2 separate regions of the Homo sapiens genome follow, and region 2 is linked to region 1. Evidence: promoter capture Hi-C in human tissues and cell types (Jung and others, 2019). All regions are on one chromosome and are shown on one strand. The core of a region is centred on a gene start or on the middle of the fragment in contact, and the rest is flanking DNA. Distances in the headings are between cores, read along the strand shown.

What was found. Contacts are between HindIII fragments. The study calls those that stand out against the background at their distance.
Region 2: a fragment that was not itself captured here is called in contact with the fragment with the promoter of CAPN11 in region 1 in 2 of the 25 tissues and cell types used here (bladder and spleen).

What each region holds. Positions count from the first base shown.
Region 1 is chr6:44,155,601-44,162,993 of GRCh38, reverse strand. It overlaps CAPN11 (calpain 11), which reads right to left and starts at 4,174. Exons shown (of 23, transcript NM_007058.4): 1 at 4,130-4,174. The coding sequence starts at 4,145. LOC107986599 (a long non-coding RNA gene) reads left to right here and starts at 4,391. Exons shown (of 3, transcript XR_002956350.2): 1 at 4,391-4,409. RefSeq lists a silencer at 1,355-1,444 and an enhancer at 2,828-2,997. The HindIII fragment of the contact is 19,752 bases long and covers 1-7,393 here.
Region 2 is chr6:43,659,445-43,666,837 of GRCh38, reverse strand. The region is part of intron 4 of RSPH9 (radial spoke head component 9); the gene reads right to left. Among named protein-coding and RNA genes, the nearest start is that of RSPH9, 18 kb to the right of the region's middle. RefSeq lists an enhancer at 4,623-4,812. The HindIII fragment of the contact is 8,446 bases long and covers 673-7,393 here.

The DNA of each region.
Region 1 (7,393 bases), core at 2,925-5,424:
GTGTCACATATGTGTCCCTCCATCATAGGATTTAATGATACTAGTGATATTACTCCAATATTGGAGTCATGTGTGTGCTTGTCTGTCTTTGCCACTGGTTTGAGCTCCTGAGAGCAAACCCTAACTCGTGTTAGGCATGTTTTATGGAGAATTTATTCTGGGCTGGTACTGAGGGGTCAAAGTGAATGCACCCCCAACATGGAGCGTGGAGAAGACCCTCCCATGCGATTCCTCCCCCAGGTTCAGCTCCATGGGCCGCAAAGACAGGAGAAAGTGCCATGAAAAGGGGCCACCAGGTTGATGGGATCATCAGGGAGGTTCTGTGGGGGAATGACTATCCCCCTTTCCCTATTCTAAGCACATCCCATTCCCCTGAGGGTGGGGTGCACTTTGACGTCCTGGTTCTGGAAGCATCAGGGCTGGGAAGCAGGGAAGAGGGTGGGTAGAGCCAGAGTCTGGGAGTTCTCCTCGCTCTTTTCTCCCTCCATTTTCCTCAAACCCTGTCTCTTCTAACCCAAGCCCTCTGGGATTATCTTAGAAATGGTAATGGAAGCTCCCTCACCCCCTCGGGCTATGATTACAGGTGTGTGTGTGTGTGTGTGTGTGTGTGTGTGTGTGTGTGTGTCTTTATTCAAAGAGACTGTGAGGGGGGCTGCGGGGGCGGGGTTAAACAGTGGAGCCCCTTTCAGATGAAGAGGGTTCCGAGGGAAGGGTGGAAAGCAGTCCTGAGAGGGGAGAGCTGAACACCTTCTGTTTCAGCCCCTGATCCCTATCTGTGAAGCTGGCGGATCAGGATGACTATTCCCATCTGAGCTGGGTGGAAGCCAGGGCCTCCACAGAGAGATTGAGTCAGAAGTTCTCAACCCGGGGTGATTACGGCCCCCAGGGAACAGGTGGCAACGTCTAGAGGCAGTGTTGGTTGTCATAACTGGGGCAGGTCTCAGGGGAGCTACTGGCATCTAGTAAGTAGAGGCCAGGGATGCTGCTGGGCGCCCCTCAGTGTAGAGGAAAGTCTCCACAATAAAGAATTTTCCAGTTCAAAATGTCAAGAGAGCTGGGGTTGACAAACCTGGGTTGAGCGAATCATCTAAGGTCATTCACACGATAAGGCAAACCACTCCATGCCCTTGCACCGTGCAGTCACTCCAGGCAGCCTCTACCCTGGCTGCTCCGAGGACTGAGGGTGTTGAGCTCTCCTGGGGGCCTGGAAGGACCAGGGAAGATGCTGTTGTTTGAGAAGACTGAAAGAACATCAGAGGGCAGGCCAAGGCAATTCAGGTTCCATCTTAACTCCCTTGTCTCATTTCCCCAGAGCCCTCTGTCCCCTAGTCACCATCCAGCCCAACAAGTCATTTCTCACTGTCTGGCCCCCAAACCCTGCTTCGAAGCTGCATACCCAGTCCCCAGGGTGTGAGGTCATTACTCAGCTCTGACTTGCAGGAAGGACTGACACACCTATCCACACCACCACAGTTGTCATGGAAAATGTCTTTAAGTTGGGCACTGTGGCTCACGCCTGTAATCCCAGCACTTTGAGAGGCTGAGGTGGGCGGATCACCTGAAGTCAGGAGTTCAAGACCCGCCTGGCCAACATGGTGAAACCCCGTCTCTACTAAGAACACAAAAATGAGTTGGGTGTGGTAGCACATGCCTGTAGTCCCAGCTATTCAGGAGGCTGAGGCAGGAGAATCGCTTGAACCCGGGAGGTGGAGGTTGCAGTGAGCCAAGGTTGGGCCACTGCACTCCAGCCTGGGCAATAGAGTGAGACTCCACCTCAAAACAAACAAACAAACAAAAACACCAAAAAAAAAAAAAACCCAAAAGAAAATATCCCCTTAGAGAGGGCAAAAGATCCAAGCTGTCACATGGGCTAGGAGCGTGAGAAGGCTGAGACAGACAGACCAAGGCTGCCTGTGGGAAGCACAGACAGATGGCCAGAGCAACACAGTAGCTCCCCTTAACCCTAGGGGTACGTTCCAACACCCCCAGTGGACACCTGAAACTGCGGGTGGTACCAAACCCTGTATATATCAATACTATGTCTTTCCTTTATGTACATACCTATGATAAAGTTTAGTTTATAAATTAGGCACAGTAAGCAGTTAACCATAATAAGTAATAAAATATAACAAATACAACAATACAATAACAGTAATGTGAATGTGGTCTCTCTGTCTCAAAATATCCTGATGTTTTCAGACTGCAGTTGACAGCGGGTAACTGAAACTGCGTGGAAAGCAGGGGCTGCTGCATGTTAAAAGGCATGAATGGACAGGAAGCTTTCTGCTGCAGCTGCACATCCTGTCTCCTCCATCAGACTGAGAACCTACAGATCATTTTGTTGTTGTTGTTGTTGTTGTTTTTTGAGGTTTTTTTTGAGGCGGAGTCTCACTCTGTCGCCCAGGCTGGAGTGCAGTGGAGCGATCTTGGCTCACTGCAAGCTCCACCTTCTGGGTTCACGCTATTCTCCTGCCTCAGCCTCCCGAGTAGCTGGGACTACAGGCGCCCGCCACCACGCCTGGCTTATTTTTTGTATTTTTAGTAGAGACAGGGTTTCACCGCGTTAGCCAAGATGGTCCCGATCTCCTGACTTCGTGATCTGCCCGCCACGGCCTCCCAAAGTGCTGGGATTACAGGCGTGAGCCACTGCGCCCGGCCAGATCGTTTTTAACTAAATCAGTTTTATTTTATTGACAAAAAAAGTATATATCTGTTGTATACGACATGGTGTTTTGAAATATGTATTCACTGTGGAATGGCTCAGTTGAGCTAATTAATATCTGCATTACTGCACATACTTGTTATTTGTTTGTGGTGAGAACACTTAAAATCTACTGTCAGTGATTTTCTTTTTTTTTTGAGATGGAGTCTCGCTGTGTCGCCCAGGCTTGGGGTGCGGTGGCACGATCTCGGCTCACTGCAACCTCCACTTGCTGGGTTCAAGAGATTCTCCTGCCTCAGCCTCCCGAGTAGCTGGGATTACAGGCGCCCGCCACCACGCATGGCTAATTTTTGTATTTTAGTAGAGACACGGTTTCACTATGTTGGCCAGGCTGGTCTCGAACTCCTGACCTCAGATGATCCACCTGCCTTGGCCTCCCAGAGTGCTAGGATTACAGGCGTGAACCACTGTGCCTGGCCTCTCTCAGTGATTTTCTAAATGCAATACATTGTTATTAGGGGACTATAGATTTAAGGACAGTTTGATTTCCGGCACTGGGAAAAAACTAAGATGTTGTGTCAGGGAACTTTAAAAAAAAATAAATACTAATAAGTAATAATAATAAATAAATAAATTATATTTTGAGATGAGGTCTTGCTATGCTGACCAGGCTGGTCTTGAACTCCTGGGCTCAGGGCACTTCTGAAGAACAAGGACTGGGTTTGGGGTCACCAGCTAGGCCTAAACTTCCTAGGGTCAGGTAAACAGGGAGGGCCTGAGAAGCTGGGAGGCTGGGTCTAGGGGCCCATGGTCTCACGGTGCCCCAGGCTGAGGGTGAGGTACAGGGCTGACCTTCTGCTGGCCAAGGCTGGCTGCCCTCTGTGCACCCTAGCCCCACAGGAACAACTCAGTTCTGCCCAGCCCTCCCCTTCCCCCCAGCCCACTCTCCCCCATCTCCTGGAGTCTGGTCCCAGGCTTGCCTCAGGTAGTCCTGCCCCTGCCACCCTGAGGATCTCATCTTCCTGGGCTGAGGGACCTGCTTTTCTAGGCTTAGGAGAGGTTCTCTCTGTTCCCTAAAGTTTTCTTCTCTACGTGGGCTTTTTCACACAAACCCTTTTCCCCAGCAGCCATGACAGTGGGATGGCCGGCCCCTCTCCTCTCCCCAACTCCAACTGTCAGTGGAGAGGAGAAAGAGTTCCTGCCCGGCCTACCACCCAGTCTGACCACCAGTGGCCTATCCTTCCCCAAACAGTCTGAGAACGAGGCCCAGGTCCTGTCCTTAGGGAGCATCCAGTCTGATGGAAGAGTCACTCTCTGTACCCTCAAGGGGCATCCAGTCTGATGGAAGAGTCACTCTCTGTACCCTCAAGGGGCACCCAGTCTGATGCGGGACACAGCTCCTCCCCTGGGGGGAGGCTCTAGCCTGCAGGAGGTACAGGAGTGGGGCAAGGCCCCATGAGTGCCTACCTGGGGAGTACAGCATGCTGGTGGCTAGCTCGGTGCTTGACAGTTGAAGGTTCTGGTGGGAGGGGGAGAAGAGACCCTCCCCCCAGAACTCTCTCATTGCAGTGGGATTCCTAGGTCAGCAGCCGGTTTAACAGCTGCCTTCCCTTTTCTCCTTCTCAGTAACCCAGCCCCTTACCCAGCTGAGGGCTACCCGCTTTAGGGACAGATGACCCAGCACCCCTGCCTTGCACAGCCTCCACCAGCCTGGCTGTCCTCACTGTATCACGGTCATCCCATCAGGGTAGGTCCCAGTCCCTTTTTTTCAGCCCAAGGTTTCCAGGAAGGGGTTGTCCCTGACACACCAACCTGACCTTTACATCCAGAAAGCCTTCTCATTCCCAAAAGCCCCTTTCTCACTGACATGGCATTTTTCCTGTGTTGCTGTCTTCACATGGCACCCTCCTCTGTGTCTCTTCTTCTTATAAGGACACCAGTCATATGGGGCTAGGGTCCCATGCATTTCAGTATGACCTCATCTTAATTGAACGAATTACATCTGCAACCACCCTGTTTCCAAATGAGGTCACATTCTGAAGTACTGGGGGCCAGGACTTCAACATGCCTTTTTGGGGGACACGATTCCACCTGCAACACTCTCCTTGCCTAGCCCCAGTCTGGCAAGGTTAGGCCACTGGTCTGACCACATGTCCTGCCTCTGCACTGGAAAGTGGGAATGCTTTGAGCTAAGAACTCTGCTCCAGAGTGCAGTCTTCTCTGGAGTGTATGATGGCTGAGGACAGGGACTGTCAAGGTCATCCCAGTGCCCCTCAGCCCTGCCTGGTGCTAATCAGGCACAGAACAGGTGTGAGAGCACCCAATGGGATCAGAGAACCTTGTTCCAAGCTCTGAAACAGGAGCTGACCTTGGGCGAGCCCTCCCCCTTTCTCCTTTCTGGGACTCAATCTCCTCATCTACGAGAATATTAATTATGGTTTGTTATTATGTGCCAAACACTGGGCTAAGAACTTCCTACTTATTTAATCCTTAAAACAGCCAGAGGCCATGACATTGCTATTCCCATTTTATAGATGAGGAAAGTGAGGTCTAGAGGTATGATGCAACTTGCCCAGGGTCACACAGCTGTTAAGCGGTCGAGCCAGGATTTAAACTAATAACTTCAGATTTTTTTTTTTTTTTTTTTTTTTGAGATGGAGTCTCGCTCTTTTGCCCAGGCTGGAGTGAAGTGGTGCAATCTCAGCTCACTGCAACCTCTGCCCCCCGGGTTCAAGCGATTCTCCTGCCTCAGCCTCTCAAGTAGCTGGGATTACAGGTGCCCACCACCATGCCCAGCTAATTTTTGTATTTTTAGTAGAGACGGGGTTTCGCCATGTTGGGCAGGCTGGTCTCGAACTCCTGACCTCAGGTGATCACTCGCTTCGGCCTCCCAAAGCGCTAGGATTATAGGCATAAGCCACCGTGCCCGGCCATAACTTTAGCTCTTATCCGTATCTTCTGCTGCCCCCAGCTGTGAAAGGAGGAAGTGGTCTTTGGGGATCCTGTGGTCTCCCCTGCCCACTCCTGATTCCACTATTGCACCTCTTGGATGCCTCTAATGTGATCTGCCTGGACATGAACTCTGTGACGAGGTGCCAGGGGTAGGGTGCAGGCAGGCACGGGTGTTCCTCTCTATTACAGCCTCCCACCCTGGGGGAGGGCTGTCCTCAGGACTCTTGCTCAGTGTGCTGCTTGGGCATTATCTGGAGTTTCACATTTGGAAATGCTGGAACCTGGCTTTGAACTTCAGGCCCTGCAGGAAAGGGAAGGCATGCTGGGCAGATGAGGAATGAGAGGGTCTCGGCTAACCAGAGGTGGGGGCTGAGGTCTGTCCAGGCCATGCTTTGCAGACAAGGGGGCTTGCCAGGCAAATGGCGGTGGTGTGCCTGCCCATCCATACGGAAAACAGGCTTCGGGAGCACCGAGAAGCCTTCACACAACCAAGGTGCTCCTTTCAAAGCCATGCCAATATTTGTCCAACCACCAGCAGGCACTCCCTTGGCCCCAAGACTTTGGGGACTCTACCTGGGAGCTCATGTTTCACAACTGCAGATCTGACATACATATGCAGGCTGAGGCCAGGACCAAGGCCTCAACTTTCACCTCCACTGTCACTGGCCCATCCTCCACCCACAGCCCGCCCATAAACACTGACCCTCCAAGCTGTGTTTGCCGCAGCTCCCTGCAGCCTGGGGCTGGACCTTGGGCGCTCTTTGCTCCTGCTCCTTGCTGGCGCCTGGGCAATCTTTATCAGGCTTGCTGTGTTTGCTGTTCCTGCTGTTGGTGGTTCCTGTTGACTTTTGTGGAACCTGGTTCTCCTCCTCCTCTGAGGTCTCTTTTCTTCCCTCTAAGAGTTCCTTTTTCTTCCTTTTCTTCAGGGTTGCAAAGTGATTTAGTGACAGAATAAGGACTGGAATGCAGGCCTCCTACAGTACATGCAGTACATGCTGTGTGTGCATGTGTGTGGGTGTGCACCACATGGCTCTGTGGGCCTTTGCAGGGTGGGCTACAGCAGTCACAGGACCTTTTTTCGAGGTGATTTTTTTTTGTTTTTTTTTGAGACAGGGTCTTGCCCTGTCGCCCAGGCTGGAGTGCAGTGGCATGATCTCAGCTCACTGCAGCCTCCACCTCCCAGGTTCAAGTGATTCTCATGCCTCAGCCTCCCAAGTAGCTGGGATTACAGGGGTGCACCACCATGCCCAGCTAATTTCTGTATTTTTTGTAGAGATGGGGTTTCATCATGTTGGCCAGGCTGGTCTCGAACTCCTGAACTCAAGTGATCCACCCACCTTGGCCTCCCAAAGTACTGGGATTACAGGCGTGAGCCACCGCGCCTGGCGAGAAGGTGAATTTGAGCTGGGTCTTGGAGAATGGGTAAGATTTGACTGGAGGGTGGGAGGGGGCTTCTCATTGAGGAGATCAGGCCCTCCTGGGGAAGGGACAGATGGGCTGGCGCCAGGCTTACTTTGAGGTGCTCAGAAGGGCCTTCGTCCTGGCCCAGCATGGACCCTGTGGCTTTGCACGACCTTTTCTCCCTGAATCTCTGTCCCATGTGTGTTGCTCAGGGACTCAGGGGAATGATCAGAGTGGGCGAGGCTGGTATGGTGGCCACCTGGGCACAGGGGCCCTTCCTGCCTCTGAGATATCCCTTAAGTCTCTCCCCAGCCCCACTCTCTCCTCTCAGTGACACAGAAATGAGACTCTGAACAAGTCCCTTGCCCAGCGTCATGC
Region 2 (7,393 bases), core at 3,646-6,145, 500 kb after region 1:
AGGCAGAGGTTGTAATGAGCTGAGGTTCCAGCGAGACTCTGTCTCAAATATATGTATATATATGGCCTCCTGACCCACGGCTGCATCTATGCCACCTGGCTGCAGCCCAAGGTCAGAGAACTCTTAGTCATTACCCTGGATCCGGCAGGAGGATGGTCCTGCCACCCCAGAACCAGCTACCCACTCCCATGGAACTTTGCGGATCCCTGGACACGGCATGACAACTCATGAGGACAACAGCTCTCCCACTCCTCTCTTCAGCCAAGGTGTCTCTTGTCACTTTGGCCAAGGGACAAGATGCGGAGTCGTTGGCCTACCTCATGGACACAGAGCAGGAGTCCCAGGAACAGGGCCAACCAAAACCACACCTGCTCAGAAGCCACGTGAAGTCACCCTGAACAACTGCCTCAGACCCTGAAAGGAAACAGTTATCCTAACTGGCCAGAAAACAGCTGCCAAATCCCATCCCTCCAGCCAGTCCTGGTGTCCCAGGGAACTCTTCCTTGGGATTTTGGCCCCAATTAGCAGCCCAGCCCAGCTGCTGCCTGCCTGGCAGGGGAGCCTCCAAGCAGCTCAGACTGCTCTTTTCCTAGCTGATAAGGAAAGGGGACCGGGGAGGAAAATCAGAGCTGTCCGCTCTCCTGTGACCATCCACACTTCCACTCCATCGCCATGACCCTCATCGAACCATCGTGAGAAAAAGGTGGGCCTAGGCTGGGCACGGTGGCTTATGCCTGTAATCCCAGCACTTTGGGAGGCTGAGGTGGGTGGATCCCTTGAGCTGAGTTGTTCAAGACCAGCCTGGGCAACACGGTGAAACCTCATCTCTACAAAAAATACAAAAACTAGCCAGGCATGGTGGTCCACACCTGTAGTCCCAGCTACTCGGGAGGCTGAGGCAGGAGGATCACTTAATCCTGGGAGGCGGAGGTTGCAGTGAGCCAAGATCATCCCACTGGCCACTGCACTCCAGCCAGGGCAACAGAGTGAGACCCTGTCAAATTAAAAAAAAAAGAAAGAAAGAAAGAAAGAAAAACTGGTAGTAGTGGCTCTGGGAGGAAGGACCTGAAGAGTATGGGGAGGTTTCCCAAGGTAAGGCCAGGAGCATCCCTCCCCTGAGGCCCACATGCCCAGGAAATGCCAGGAGTCCTCAGCTTCCAAGGTTCCAGCTCATAAAGCAACATGGTGGGGTGGACTGGGAAGTGAAGCCAGCAGCTGATCCTGCAGCCCTGAGGTCACCATCAGGGCAGGATGCCTAGGGCCTTGGGTCACTGCAGCTCACCCACCTGCCAGGCCCAGATGCCACACCTCCCATAGGCCTGATGAATTCACTTGCCAACTGGACACATCAGAGTGGCTCACCAGGCTGGAATGCAATGGTGGCCAATCACAAGTAACCTCAAACTCCTAAGCTCAAGCGATTCTGCCACCTTGGCCTCCCAAAGCACTGGAATTATAGGCATGGGCCACCTTGCCCAGCCCCAACCCCAGCAGCCTTTAGGAAGACTCCAAAGCTCCACATTTTACTTCTCCTGTTGCAAGGAAAGACAGCTGCCTCCAGGGTCCACCTTACCCGAGACAGCAGAGGGCAGATAGGGCTGATGGTGTTCCCTTAGGAAGACTTTGCTGGGCCCCACCCCATCTAGCTGGCTTTGGTCTTGGCTGCAGAAGCTCTATCACCCTCTTCACCCCTCTTGCTGCACAGTGGATGAGGCTCCACGGGCAAAGCAGCACTACTGCACCAGCCCCTCTCACCCAGCACAAAGGAGAGTTTCATCTTCTGATTCTGGAGCATCCAGCTGCAGGTAAGAAGGCTGCAAAGGGCTTGCCAGACACACCCTGAATCAGGGGACAGGGCTGCTGCCCTCAGATTAGGGGAATGAAGAGGACTTCTGTAGGCCCACCCCTCAGCCCCTGGCTCTGAGGTTCCATCACCACCGCCGTTCCAGGCTCCCTTTGTCAACGAGGGACGTACAGCACCCTCAGCCTCCTGACAAGTCTGGGAGCAGAGATGGAGGAGATGAGGGGAGTCTGAGAAGTATGTCTGATGGGCGAGAAATGCCCCAACCCCTATAGACCCTCTTCATATCCCCCTACTTGTCCGGAGACCCTCCTCTCTGTCACTACAGCACTGGCCCTGCTCAGAGTAGCTTGACTCAGATGTTCCTGTATGATGGAAGCCCAAATGGCCACTCCTTGGTGGCAGCTCCTACCCACTCAGAACCATTGCCTGGCCCCTGGGGCACTGCAGTAGCCCTGAAATGGCCTCATGATTCCTGGTTTGCCTTGCCCTGTCTCGCTCCACCTGTGTACCACTGCCTTATTGTCACAGACCTGCTCACAAGCCACCAGCAGCTTCTACTGCCTTGGCCTTCTAGGCCCTCCTAGGCCTGCCCCAACTCATCTCTAAGGACTTTCTGCCACTAAAAAAATTAATAATAAGGCCAGGTGCAGTGGCTCACGCCTGTAGTCCCAGCTACTCAGGAGGCTGAGACAGTAGAATCACTCAAACCCGGGAGGCAGAGGCTGCAGTGAGCTGAGATCATGCCACTGCACTCCAGCCTGGGCGAGAAACTCCGTCTCAAATAAATAAACTCTGTCTCAAAATAATCATCATCATCATCATCATCATCACAGGTTTACTTTGATATATTGCTCTTCACAAACACTGCAGTTTTTATAAATTGAAGGTTTGCATGTGTAAAGCCAGTATATCAGTGCCATTTTTCCAACAGCATATGCTCACTTTGTATCTCTGTGTCACATTTTGGTAGTTTTCACAATTTTTCAAACTCTTTTTTTTTTTTTTTCGAGACATTCTCATTCTGTCACCCAGGCTGGAGTGCAGTGGCGTGATCTCGGCTCACTGCCACCTCTGCCTCCAAGGTTCAAGTGATTCTCGTGTCTCAGCCTCCTGAGTAGCTGGGACTACAGGTGTGCACACTACACCTGGCTAATTTTTGTATTTTTAGTATAGATGGGGTTTCACTATGTTGGCCAGACTGGTCTCAAACTCCTGGCCTTTAGTGATCCGCCCACCTCGGCCTCCCAAAGTGCTGGAATTACAGGCATGAGTCACCGCACTCAGCCCTTTTTTTTGTTATTATTATTATATGTGTTATGGTGTTCTGTGATCAGTGATCTTTGATGTTACTATGATATTGTTTTGGGGCACCACGAACTACATCCATTTAAGATGGCAAACTTAATTGATAAATGTGTGTCTTCTGACTTCTCCCAGCCCTCTCCCTCTCCTCAGGCCACCCTATTCCCTGAGACACAACAATCATGAAATTAGGCCAATTAATAACTCTACAGAGGCTGGGCGCATTGGTTCTTTCCTGCAATCCCAGTACTCTGGGAGGCTGAGGGAGGTGGATCATCTGAGGTCAGGAGTTTGAGACCAGCCTGGCCAACATGGTGAAACCCTGTCTCTACTAAAAATACAAAAATTAGCTGGGCATGGTGGCATGTGCCTATAATCCCGGCTACTCAGGAGGGTGAGGCAGAAGAATCGCTTGAACCCAGGAGGCGGAGGTTGTAATGAGCTGAGATCATGCCATTGCACTCCAGCCTGGGCAACACAGTGAGACTCTGTCTCAAAAAAAAATAAAAAATAAAATAACTCTACAATAGCCTCTAAGTGTTAAGTGAAAGGAAGAATCTCACGCCTCTCACTTTAAATCAAAAGCTAGAAATGACTAAGTTTAGTAAGGAAGGCATGTCAGAAGCTGAGATAGAGCCAGGCATGGTGGTTCATCCCTGTAATCCCAGCACTTTAGGAGGCTGAGGCAGGAGGACTGTTTGAGTGCAGGAGTTTGAAACCAGCCCGAGCAACACAGCGAGACCCCATCCCTACAAAAAAAAAATGCCAGGTATGGTGCACACACCTATTGCGTGTGCTGTTGCACTCCTCAAGAGGTTGAGGCAGGAGGATTGCTTGAGCCCAGGAGTTCAAAGTTACAATGAGTTATGATCATGCCACTGCACTCCAGTCTGGGTGATGAAGCAAGACCCTGTCTCTAAAACCAAAAATAAAAAAAATTGAGATAGGCTGAAAGATAGGCCTCTTATACCAAACAGCTAAGCTGTGAATGCAAATAAAAGTCCTTGAAGGAAATTAAAAGTGCAACTCCAGTGAACATACAAATGATAAGAAAGTGAAACAGCCGGCCAGGCGTGGTGGCTCACGCCTGTAATCCCAGCGCTTTGGGAGGCCGAGGCAGGTGGATCACAAGGTCAGGAGATCGAGACCATCCTGGCTAACATGGTGAAACCCCGTCTCTACTAAAAAATACAAAAAATTAGCTGGGCGTGGTGGCGGGCGCCTATAGTCCCAGCTACTCAGGAGACTGAGGCAGGAGAATGGCGTGAACCTGGGAGGCAGAGCTTGCAGTGAGCCGAGATTGCACCACTGCACTCCAGCCTGGGCGACAGAGCAAGACTCCGTCTCAAAAAAAAAAAAAAGAAAGTGAAACAGCCTTCTTGCTGATATGTAGAAAGTTTGAGTGGTCTAGATAGGAAATCAAACCGGCCACAACCTTCTCTTAAGCCACAGCCTAATACAGAGCAAGGCCTTAACTCTCTTCAATTCTATGAAGGCTGAGAGGTGAGGAAGCTACAGAAGAAATGTTGGAAGCTAACAAAGGTTAGTTCATTGACTGGGCATGGTTGCTCATGCCTGTAATCCTAGCACTTTGGGAGACTCAGGCAGGAGGATGGCTTGAGCCCAGGGGTTGGGGCCAGCCTGGGCAACATAGGGAGACCCTGTGTCTACAAGAAATAAGCCAGGCATGGTGGCACACACCTGTAGTCCCAACTACTCAGGAGGCAGAGGTGGGAAGATCACTTGAGCCTGGGAAGTCGAGGCTACAGTGAAGCATGATCACGCTGTTGCACTCTGGCCTGTGCAACAGAGTGAGACTCTGTCTCAGTCAGTCAATCAATCAATGTTAGTTCATGAGATTTAAGGCAAGAAGCTGTCCCTGTCACATAAAAGTACAAAGTGGAGCAGCAAATGCTAATGTACAAGCTGCAGCAAGTTAACCAGAAGACCTGGCTAAGATCACTGATTAAGGCGGCTACACTAAACAATAGATTTTTAATGGAGATGAAACAGCCTTCTCTTGGAAGAATATGCCATCTAGGATTTCCTCTTTTTTTTTTTTTTTTTTTTTGAGACAGAGTCTCGCTCTGTCACCCAGGCTGGAGTACATTGGCACAGTCTTGGCTCACTGCAACCTCTGCCTCCCGGGTTCAAGCAATTCTCCTGCCTCAGCCTCCCGAATAGCTGGGATTACAGGTGCAGGCCACCATGCCCGGCTAATTTTTGTATTTTTAGTAGAGATGGGGTTTCACCACATTGGCCAGGCTGCTCTCAAACTCCTGACCTCAGGTGATCCGCCCACCTCGGCCTCCCAAAGTGTTGAGATGACAGGCGTGAGCCACCGCACCCAGCCAAACATCTAGGACTTTCATAGCTAAAGAGAAGTCAATGCCTGGCATTAAAGCTTCAAAGAACAGGCTGACTCTCTTGTTAGGGGCTCATACAGCTGGTGACTTTAAGTTGAAGCCAATGCTTATTTACCATTTTGGAAATCCTAGGGCCCTTAAGAATTATGCTAAATCTACTCTGCCTGTGCTCTATAGATGGAACAACAAACCCTGGATGACAGCATGTCTGTTTATAGCATGGTTTACTGAATACTTTAAGCCCACTTTTGAGACCTACTGCTCAGAGAAAAGGATGGCTTTCAAATTACTACTGCTCATTGACAATGCACCTGATTGAGATGTACAACGAGATTAATGTTGTGCTCTGATGGAGATGTACAAGAGCCCTGATGGAGATGTACAACGAGATTAATGTTGTTTTCCTGCCTGCTAACACAACATCCATCCTGCAGCCATGGATCAAGGAGTGACTTCACTTTTCAAGTCTTATTTTTAAAAGACATTTCATAAAGCTATAACTGCCATAGATAATGATTCCTCTGATGGATCTGGGCAAAGTAAATTTAAAACATTTTGGAAAACATTCATCATTTTAGATGACATTAAGAATATTCATGACTTGGCCAGGTGCGGTGGTTCACACCTATAATCCCAGCACTTTCGGAGGCCGAGACTGGCAGATCACTAGGTCAGGAGATTGAGACTACCCTGGCTAACACGGTAAAACCCCATCTCTACTAAAAATACAAAAAATTAGCTGGGTGTGGTGATGGGCGCCTGTAGTCCCAGCTACTCGGGAGGCTGAGGCAGAAGAATCACTTGAACACGGGAGGTGGAGGTTGCAGTGAGCTGAGATCATGCCACTGTACTCCAGCCTGTGTGACAGAGCAAGACTCTGTCTCAAAAAATAAATAAATAAATAAATAAAAAAGAATATGCATGACTCATGGGAGGAGGTCAAAATGTCAACATCAACAGGAGTTTGGGAGAAGTTGATTCCAACCCTCATGGATGATATTGACAGGTTCAAGACGTCAGTGGAGGGCCAATCACAGTGCCTCACACCTGTAATCGCAACATTTTGGGAGGCTGAGGTGGGCAGATCACTTGAGGTCAGGAGTTCAAGATCAGCCTGGCCAACATGGTGAACTCATCTCTACTGAAAATACAAAAAATAGCCAGGCATCGTGGCGCATGCCTGTAATCCAGCTACTTAGGAGGCTGAGGCAGGAAAATCACTTGAACCCAGGAGGCAGGGGTTGCAGTGAGCTGAGATCACACCACTGCACTCCAGCCTGAGCAAAAGAGCAAGACTCTGTCTCAAAAAAAAAAAAAAAAAAAAAAGGCCAGGCTGGGCATGGTGGCTCACGCCTGTAATCCAACACTTTGGGAGGCCAAGGCGGGCAGATCACCTGAGGTCATGAGTTCAAGAGCAGCCTGGACAACTTGGTGAAACCCTGTCTCTACTAAAAATATTTTTAAAATTAGCCAGGCATGGTGGCAGGCACCTGTAATCCCAGCTACTCAGGAGGCTGAGGCAGGAGAATGGCGTGAACCCGGGAGGCGGAGCTTGCAGTGAGCCGAGATGACATCACTTGCACTCCAGCCTGGGCGATAGAGTGAGACTCCATTTCAAAAAATAATAATAATAATAAATAAAAATAAAAGTAAAAAGTAGAAATACAAAAATTAGCCGAACATGGGCCGGGCGGGGTGGCTCACGCCTGTAATCCCAGCACTTTGGGAGGCTGAGGCAGGCGGATCACGAGGTCAGGCGATTGAGACCACCCTGGCTAACACAGTGAAACCCCAACTCTATTAAAAATACAAAAAATTAGCCAGCCGTGGCGGCGGGCGCCTGTAGTCCCAGATACTCAGGAGGCTGAGGCAGGAGAATGGCGTGAACCCGGGAGGCGGAGCTTGCAGTGAGCCGAGATCG